Linked DNA regions of Homo sapiens: all the other regions are linked to region 1. Evidence: promoter capture Hi-C in 16 types of primary human blood cells and fetal thymus (Javierre and others, 2016). All regions are on one chromosome and are shown on one strand. Each heading gives the region's core, a stretch centred on a gene start or on the middle of the fragment in contact. The rest is flanking DNA. Distances are from core to core; before and after follow the strand shown.

What was found. The method cuts DNA at HindIII sites, captures the fragments that hold promoters and counts their contacts. A CHiCAGO score of 5 or more calls a contact.
Region 2: a fragment that was not itself captured here is called in contact with the fragment with the promoter of RPUSD3 in region 1 in 1 of 17 cell types (total CD8 T cells); the score reaches 6.3 in total CD8 T cells.
Region 3: the fragment with the promoter of IRAK2 here is called in contact with the fragment with the promoter of RPUSD3 in region 1 in 1 of 17 cell types (activated CD4 T cells); the score reaches 5.3 in activated CD4 T cells.

What each region holds. Positions count from the first base shown.
Region 1 is chr3:9,842,585-9,845,527 of GRCh38, forward strand. RPUSD3 (RNA pseudouridine synthase D3) reads right to left here and starts at 1,424. Exons shown (of 9, transcript NM_173659.5): 1 at 1,306-1,424; 2 at 881-1,017. The coding sequence starts at 1,406. RefSeq lists an enhancer at 1,287-1,366. The HindIII fragment of the contact is 7,859 bases long and covers 1-2,943 here.
Region 2 is chr3:10,147,316-10,150,132 of GRCh38, forward strand. It overlaps VHL (von Hippel-Lindau tumor suppressor), which reads left to right. Exons shown (of 3, transcript NM_000551.4): 3 at 2,472-2,817. The coding sequence ends at 2,650. Among named protein-coding and RNA genes, the nearest start is that of VHL, 6.9 kb to the left of the region's middle. The HindIII fragment of the contact is 5,547 bases long and covers 1-2,817 here.
Region 3 is chr3:10,163,459-10,166,475 of GRCh38, forward strand. IRAK2 (interleukin 1 receptor associated kinase 2) reads left to right here and starts at 1,461. Exons shown (of 13, transcript NM_001570.4): 1 at 1,461-1,590. The coding sequence starts at 1,497. RefSeq lists silencers at 1,296-1,425, 1,626-1,775. The HindIII fragment of the contact is 5,632 bases long and covers 1-3,017 here.

The sequences.
Region 1 (2,943 bases), core at 174-2,673:
ACTTACCACTAGTAACTTGTTCATTTATTTTCTGACATCCATTTCTCCCGTTAGAGAGAAATCCATTTCTCCCCTGAGAGCAGAAACCATATCTATCTTTTTCAGCACTGTATAGCCTGCCTAGAACAGTGCCTGGAACATAGCATATGTTCAAGAAATAGTTGAGAAAAGGAATAAATCACTGAATAGAGAGTGGGGTTCAGAGAAATTCAGTTATTTTCCTAAAGCCGCACAGCAAGCTGATCACAGAGCCTAGGTATGTCTGACTCCAAAGCCTGTGTTTTGTCCGTCGATAAATAATCATTATTTATTTATTTATTTATTTAGACTGAGTCTTGCTCTGTCATCCCAGGCTGGAGCGCAGTAGCACGATGTCGGCTCACTGCAACCTCTGCTATCCGGGTTCAAGTGACTCTCCTGCCTCAGCCTCCCGAGTAGCTGGGATTACAGGCGGACGCCGCCACACCTGGCTAATTTTTGTGTTTTTAGTAGAGACGGGGTTTCACCATGTTGGCCAGGCTAGTCTCGAACTCCTGACCTCAGGTGATCCGCCCGCGTCAGCACCCTAAAGTGCCGGGATTACAGGCGTGAGCCACCGCGGCCAATAAACAATAATCTAGTATAGCAACTCCCGTAACTGAGCGCCGGCTATGTGCAAGGCTCGGTAGTTATTTGCATCTTCTCCCCACTCTTAACCCTACTGCATCATGGCAGTAGGGTTAAAAGCGGGGAGAGGGTGCAAATTAGGTGGCTTGTCCCAGCTCATGCTGCTAGTGGGAGGCAGAAGCAGGGCTGATCCCGTGGCTTCAATGGAGAGCCCAACTGCACGCCGAGGCAGTCCCCTCCCGGTCCTTGTGCGGCCGTGCCTCTCACCCCTCACCTTTCCGGTCCACCACGGCTGCCCGCAGCGCATCAACCAGCTCCTCCCGACTGAGGTTTTTTGGCAGCAGCCCCGCGAAGGGCTGGTCCCCGAGGGGCCCCGACCGTTGGCAGGAGCCGCGGGGTTGCCTCTGATGCCTGGACAAGGAGGGAGAAGCAATGGGAGTCATTCCATCCCGAGGTGCCACCCATTCCTATCTCCGGACGCCTCTTCCCAAATCCTGCGGCCTCTGACAAATGCCTCACAATGTCTGGGCTGACCTCGAAAATTCAGGTACGACCGGTCCCATTCTACAGCGGAGGGCACCGAGGCTCAGAGAGGCCAACGGGGCTGTTTTCGGGTAACATCTACCTGATCCAGATCCCGCACGTGCCTTCCCCCTGCCCTAGCCTCCGTCCCGCATGAGAGAGGGGGTACTTAATCACCGGGCTTCGGTGCCAAAGCCTGCGTCCTCGGGCACTGGGCGGACACCCAGGCCCCGCCGCCAGCCACTCCAGAACCGGCCCAAAACACGGCGGCCGTCCATCTCCCGAGCCAGGACAGCGCGCATGTGCGTCCAGAGGGGCAGACCCGCGCTCCAGCCAGCGCGCTGATTGGTCAGCTGGAGTGTCAATCGGAATGGTGACCGGGCGGGACTCAGAGCCTGAGGAGGCGGGGCTTTTCCTCCGCCCAGGAAGGAAATGCAGAAATGCCTTCCTATGCTTTTAGGGAGAGCGCTGTAGCAGAAGAATTTGATCTGATCAAAAAACCTGTCTTAGCAAAAAACCTGAAGCCGCCTTTGCAAAAATTATATTACAAAATTATGACAGCGAAAGAGATCTGATCTAACCAACCCGCAGCTTGCCTTTAACCTCTAAACGGTCCTTGGTCATTCCTGGGCTTGGGCCAAGCTAACTTTGGGAGAAATTAGTTCGTAGTCTAAATGATAATTGCCCTTCCCCCGAACTAAACTGGCTTCATAGAGTTAATGAAAGGCCACCAGGTTAGGAGTAGTAGAGGGACCTGAATTCTGCTAAGGGTTAGAGGTAACTGATTACCAGCGGTTATTCCGGAGGTCACAGTGTTTGCAGCTTCCCCAGCTCACGATTGTCCAACCTGAGATTGGCCTTTGGAGATGTCTTTCCAGGCTTTTGCATTTCTGACGGCCGGATCACCCCACCCGGACCCTCAACTCTTGGCTCTACTAGTCCTGTGGCCCCTCGAAGTCAGGAGATCGAGACCATCCTGGCTAACACGGTGAAACCACGTCTCCACCAAAAATACAAAAAAATTAGCCGGGCGTGGTGGCGGGCGCCTGTAGTCCCAGCTACTCGGGAGGCTGAGGCAGGAGAATGGCGTGAACCCGGGAGGCGGAGTTTGCAGTGAGCCGAGATCGTGCCACTGCACTCCAGCCTGGGCGACGAGCGAGACTCCGTCTCAAAAAAAAAAAAAAAAGAAAAAAGAAAAAGAAAGTAGAAGAACACAGAAAAAAAAGAATAATATAATGACTGCCCACATTCCTACCATCAGAATTAGTCATTGTGAAACAATATATATATGTATAGGTTTCCTGTTTTTCTTGTTTAAGAAATGAAAGGGATAAAAGTAAATTCCCCTTTACTGCGTGCTTCCAGTTTTCACTCCCTCCCCAGTCTCCACTTTGAGTTTGGTGTGAACATTTTCCTAATGTGTTTTGGTTTTTGTTTTTTGGAGACAGAGTCTCGCTCTGTCACCCAGGCTAGAGTGCAGTGGCCCGATCTCGACTCACTGCAACTTCCACCTCCCGGGTTCAAGCGATTCCCCTGCCTTTGCCTCCTGAGTAGCTGGAATTACAGGTGCGGTGCCCGCCACCACACCCGGCTAATTTTTTGTATTTTAGTGACGGGGTTTCACCATGTCGCCCAGGCTGGTCTCGAACTCCTGAGCTCAGGCAATCCGCCCGCCTTGGCCTCCCAAAGTGCTAGGATTACAGACGTGAGCCACTGTGCCCGGCCACTAATGTGTTTTTTTGCTTGCTCTGTCATCCAGGCTGGAGTGCAGTGGCACAATCACAGCTCACTGCAGCCTCAACCTCCCAGGCTCAA
Region 2 (2,817 bases), core at 318-2,817, 300 kb after region 1:
TTTTCAATTTAACACAATCAAGCTCACAGTGCCAATCAGAGGTGTTTTTTTTTTTTTTATTTTTATTTTTAGAGAGTCTCACAGTGTCATCCAGGCTGGAGTGCAGTGGTGCGATTTCAGCTCACTGCAACCTCTGCATCCTGGGTTCAAGTGATTCTCCTGCCTCAGCCTCCTGGGTAGCTGGGGTTATAGGTGCCTGTCACCACACCTGGCTAATTTTTGTATTTTTAGTAGAGATGAGGTTTCACCATGTTGGCCAGGCTGATCTTGAACTCCTGACCTCAGGTGATCTGCCCACCTCAGCCTCCCAAAGTGCTGGGATTACAGGCGTGAGCCACTGCGTCCAGCCTGTTTTTTTTTTTTTTTAAATCATTGAAGATTGGTATAATACTTCACTATTTGTTTGAAGCTCAAATGATTTTATCAGGGTAAACCCTAATAAACTGATGTTCCTGTGGGTAAAAAAAACCTCACTAAAGACCAGCAGTGTGTGGTGGCTCCTGCCTGTAATCATGCCTGTAATTCCAGCACTTAGGGAGGCTATGGCGGGAGGGTCGCTTGAGACCAGGAGTTCTTGACCAGCCTGGACAACAAAGTGAGACCCCAGCTCCACAAAAAAATTTTTTTTTAATTACCTGGGCATCTTAGCATATGCCTGTGGTCACAGCTATTTGGGAGGCTTAGGTGGGAGGATCCCTTGAGCCCAGGAGTTTGAGGCTGCAGTGAGCCATGATCATACCACTGCACTCCAGCCCAGGTGACAGAGTGAGATCCTGTCTCAAAAAAAGAAAAAAAAAACTCAAAAACCCCCCAAATACATGGGTTTCATAGGATTCAAACTACTATGTGTGTATAGATCCTGTTTTAAGGAAGTAGATATATAAAAATGAGCATTGCTAAGTTAAATTTGGTAAATTTGCCTTATAGAATACCCTCGAGTACGTTTCCAGTGAGTGTAAAATAGGAATTGGGATACCCAATTCAGTTGTACTAGATTTTCTTTTTTTTTTTTTTTTTGAGACGGAGTCTCGCTCTGTCGCCCAGGCTGGAGTGCAGTGGCGGGATCTCGGCTCACTGCAAGCTCCGCCTCCCGGGTTCACGCCATTCTCCTGCCTCAGCCTCCCAAGTAGCTGGGACTACAGGCGCCCGCCACTACGCCCGGCTAATTTTTTGTATTTTTAGTAGAGACGGGGTTTCACCGTTTTAGCCGGGATGGTCTCGATCTCCTGACCTCGTGATCCGCCCGCCTCGGCCTCCCAAAGTGCTGGGATTACAGGCGTGAGCCACCGCGCCCGGCCTAGATTTTCTAAGTACACATTGTTTTGGTTATGTGTTTTGTGACTACCACCCCAAAACTAATAACCACCTTTTTTTTTTTTTTGAGACAGAGTCTCACTGTGTCACCCAGGCTGGAGTGCAGTGGCGTGTGATCTTGGCTCACTGCAACCTCTGCCTCTCGGGTTCAAGCGATTCTCCTGCTTCAGCAGCTGGGACTACAGGTGTGCACCACCAAGCCTGGCTAATTTTTTGCATTTTAGTGGAGACGGGGGTTTCACCATGTTGACCAGGCTGATCTTGAACTCTTGAGCTCAGGCAGTCTGCCTGCCTCAGCCTCCTAAAGTGCTAGGATTACAGGCGTGAGCCACTGCGCCCAGCCCACCATTTTATTTGTTCATAATTCTGTAGTCCAGGCTGGGCTCAGCTAGGCAGTTACTCTGCTGGTGGTAGTCGTTGGTGTGGCTGCCTTTTGCTGGCAGCTGGGGGCTGGGCCTGTCCCTCTTTTTTTTTTTTCTCTTTTCTTTTTTCTTTTTTTTCAAGATAGGGTCTCACTCTGTCACCCAGGTTGGAGTGCAGTGGCATGATCTTAGCTCACTGCAACCTCTGCCTCCAGGGCTCAAGTGATCCTCCCACCTCAGCCTCCCCAGTCGCTGGGACCACAGGCATGTGCCACCATGCCTGGCTAATTTTTTGTGTATTTTGTAGAGACGGGGTTTCGCCATGTTGCCAGGCTGGTCTCGAACTCCTGAGCTCAGGCGATCTACTGACGTTGGCCTCCCAAAGTGTTGGGATCACAGGCATGAACCACCATGCCTGGCCAGGGCCTGTTCCTCTTTATGTGGTCTCTCTAGCAGGGTAGCTCAGGGCTTTCAAAAGTATAAAAGCAGAAGTCAGCAGGCCTTTTTAAGGCTTCGGCCTAGAATTGCCAGTGTCGCTTCATCCACATTCAGTTAGTTAAAGCAATCACAAGCCCAGCCCATTTCAAGGTGAAATTACTACAGAGGCATGAACACCATGAGGTGTCCATAGGGGGCCATCAGCATAACACACTGCCACATACATGCACTCACTTTTTTTCTTTAACCTAAAGTGAGATCCATCAGTAGTACAGGTAGTTGTTGGCAAAGCCTCTTGTTCGTTCCTTGTACTGAGACCCTAGTCTGCCACTGAGGATTTGGTTTTTGCCCTTCCAGTGTATACTCTGAAAGAGCGATGCCTCCAGGTTGTCCGGAGCCTAGTCAAGCCTGAGAATTACAGGAGACTGGACATCGTCAGGTCGCTCTACGAAGATCTGGAAGACCACCCAAATGTGCAGAAAGACCTGGAGCGGCTGACACAGGAGCGCATTGCACATCAACGGATGGGAGATTGAAGATTTCTGTTGAAACTTACACTGTTTCATCTCAGCTTTTGATGGTACTGATGAGTCTTGATCTAGATACAGGACTGGTTCCTTCCTTAGTTTCAAAGTGTCTCATTCTCAGAGTAAAATAGGCACCATTGCTTAAAAGAAAGTTAACTGACTTCACTAGGCATTGT
Region 3 (3,017 bases), core at 211-2,710, 320 kb after region 1:
AAACTCCTGGGTTCAAGAGATCCTACCACCTTAGCCTCCTGAGTAGCTGGGACTATAGGTGTACACTACCATGCTTGGCTCATTTTAAAATTTTTTGTAGAGGCCAGGCGTGGTGGCTCATGCCTGTAATCCTAGCACTTTGGGAGGCCGAGGCAGGCGGATCACGAGGTCAGGAGTTCAAGACCATCCTGGCCAACACAGTGAAACCCTGTCTCTACTAAAAATACAAAAATTAGCTGGGCGTGGTGGCGCGTGCCTGTAATCCCAGCTACTCGGGAGACTGAGGCAGGAGAATTGCTTGAACCGGGACCTGGGAGGCAGAGGCTGCAGTGAGCCAAGATTGCGCCACTGCACTCCAGCCTGGGCTACAGAGCAAGACTCCGTCTCAAAAAAAAAAAGTTTTTTGTAGAGATAAGATCTTCCTATGTTGCCCAGGCTTCTACTTTCATTCTCCAACATAGCTTATCTGCCTATTTTTATTGCTTGTTGTCTGTCTCCCTCCAGGACAAGGATTTTGTCCTTCTCTTCAGAGGTATTCCCAGCACCTACAACAGTGCCTGGCACATAGTAGCTGCACGATACATATTAGCTACTATAGTAAAGTCTACCTGACTACCCTATTTAATAGAATATTCCCCATGCTCAATCTGAATTCCTGATTCCCTTTAACCAACTTTTTTTCCTTTTTTTTTTTTTTTGCAATAGTGCTTATTACCTTTAAGACACTCTGTAACATACTATATTTATTATTTATTGTTAGTCTTTCTCTCCACACCTAGATTGTAAGTCTTATGAAAGCAAGGGCTTTTGTAGGCTTTTTTTTTTTTTTTTTTTTTTTTTTGAGACAGAGCCTCACTCTTCACCCAGGCTGGAGTACAAGGGCACAATCTGGGCTTACTGCAACCTCCGCCTCCAGGGTTCAAGCGATTCTTCTGCCTCAGCCTCCCAGGTAGCTGGGACTACAGGCGTGCGCCACCGTGCCCGGCTAATTTTTGTATTTTTAGTAGTGACGGGGTTTCACCATATTGGCCAGGCTAGTCTCGAACTCCTGACCTCGTGATCCGTCCGCCTCGGCCTCCCAAAGTACTGGGATTACAGGAGTGATCCACCGCGCCCGGCTGTAGGGTTTCTTATTCAGGTATTACCAACACCTAGGGAGTTGCCTGGCATACAGTAGGTAATTAATGGAGTATTTGATGAGCGCATGATGCATGGTGTAGTGCCGATGGAAGTGGGGTCAGAAGGCCTCCTGCCGCTGCGGCAGAATTCCCGTGTGGCCTTCTCCCACCAGGGCCTCAGTTTCCCCTCGCAGTTCCGATTCTCTGGCCGGCGCTGGGGTGGAGCCGGCGGGGCCGTCGTGCCGCCCGTGGCCGCTGGGGACGCTGGTGCCCTCCCGCCCCGCCCACTTCCCCGCCGGTCCGCCCCTGGCTAGAGAAGCCGCAGCCCGCAGTGTCCGACCCAGTCGTCCCGCGCCGGAGCCGGCCCCGTAGCGTGCCATGGCCTGCTACATCTACCAGCTGCCCTCCTGGGTGCTGGACGACCTGTGCCGCAACATGGACGCGCTCAGCGAGTGGGACTGGATGGAGTTCGGTGAGTGCGGCCCGGGGAGGGGAGGGGACCAGGGCGACCGGAGCCCCCAGCGATCCCGCCTGGAGCGGCCGCCAAGCTCCCTCGGGCACCCGGGTTCAGCGGGTCCCGATCCGAGGGCGTGCGAGCTGAGCCTCCTGGACCGGGTCCGCCGCGGACCTCGGCCTGTCACCTGAAGGTGCCGCGTGGTCTCTGAGGACGTCTGTCGACGAGCAGGGGCCGCCGCCACTGCGCTCTGAGTCCAGAGAACGGTGGGTACGGGGGCCCTCCTGTCAGCGCTGCTGGCTCGGTGACGTCCCCAGGTGGCCTCTCATCCAGCCCACAACAGCCTGCAAAGTGCGAGCCTCGACCCTGTAGGGACCCACGGTGCTGTCACTTCTTGGGGGGGTGTGTGTGTGTGTGTGTGTGGTGTGTTTAGTTTTAGTGTATATTAGAAGGATCTATGATTTAACATATATATATATATTGAAACGGAGTTTCGCTGTTGTTGCCCAGGCTGGAGTGCAATGGCACGGTCTCGGCTCACTGCAACCTCCACCTCTGGGATTCAAGCGATTTTCCTGCCTCGGCCTCCCGAGTAGCTGGGATTACAGGCGCCCGCTACCACCCTGGCTAATTTTTTGTATTTTCAGTAGAGACCGGGTTTCACCATGTTGGCCAGACTGGTCTTGAACTATTTTTTTTTTTTTTTTTTTTTTTTTTTAAGACGGAGTCTCACTCTGTCGCCCAGGCTGGAGTGCAGTGGCGCGATCTAGGCTCGTTGCAAGCTCCGCCTCCCGGGTTCACGCCATTCTCCTGCCTCAGCCTTCTGAGTAGCTGGGACTACAGGCGCCCGCCACCACGCCCGGCTAACTTTGTATTCTTAGTAGAGACGGGGTTTCACCGTGTTAGCCAGGATGGTCTGGATCTCCTGACCTTGTGATCCGCCCACCCTGGGCCTCCCAAAGTGCTGGGATTACAGGCATGAGCCACCGCGCCCGGCCTCCGGAACTCTTGATCTCAGGCGATCCACCTGCTTCGGCCTCCCAAAGTGCTGGGATTACAGGCGTGAGCCACTGTGCCCAGCCTATTTATCATATTTGTGATTAAATGTACTTTACCATTATAGTTTTAAAATCAGATATTTACTTTTAGTGTACATTGTTTTGATCACAGTATTTATGACTATCAACCTGTTTTGAGATCAGATGTGTCCTAATAGATTCAGTGTGTATAATGGGGCCTAAGCACAAGCACTTACTTTCACTCTATTGCAAGGTGCACAGTTCTAGATAATTCCGTGGGAAGGCACTCAGACAGCCTCCATATGTTTTGTTTGTTGGTGCCTGACGGATGACTGGCGGAGAGGGCCATGGACTCTGCGGGGAGGCCGCTTGCCTGTTGTCTCTGCTTTCCAGGTGGAGATCTGCATTCCAGGCTCTTGCTGTATG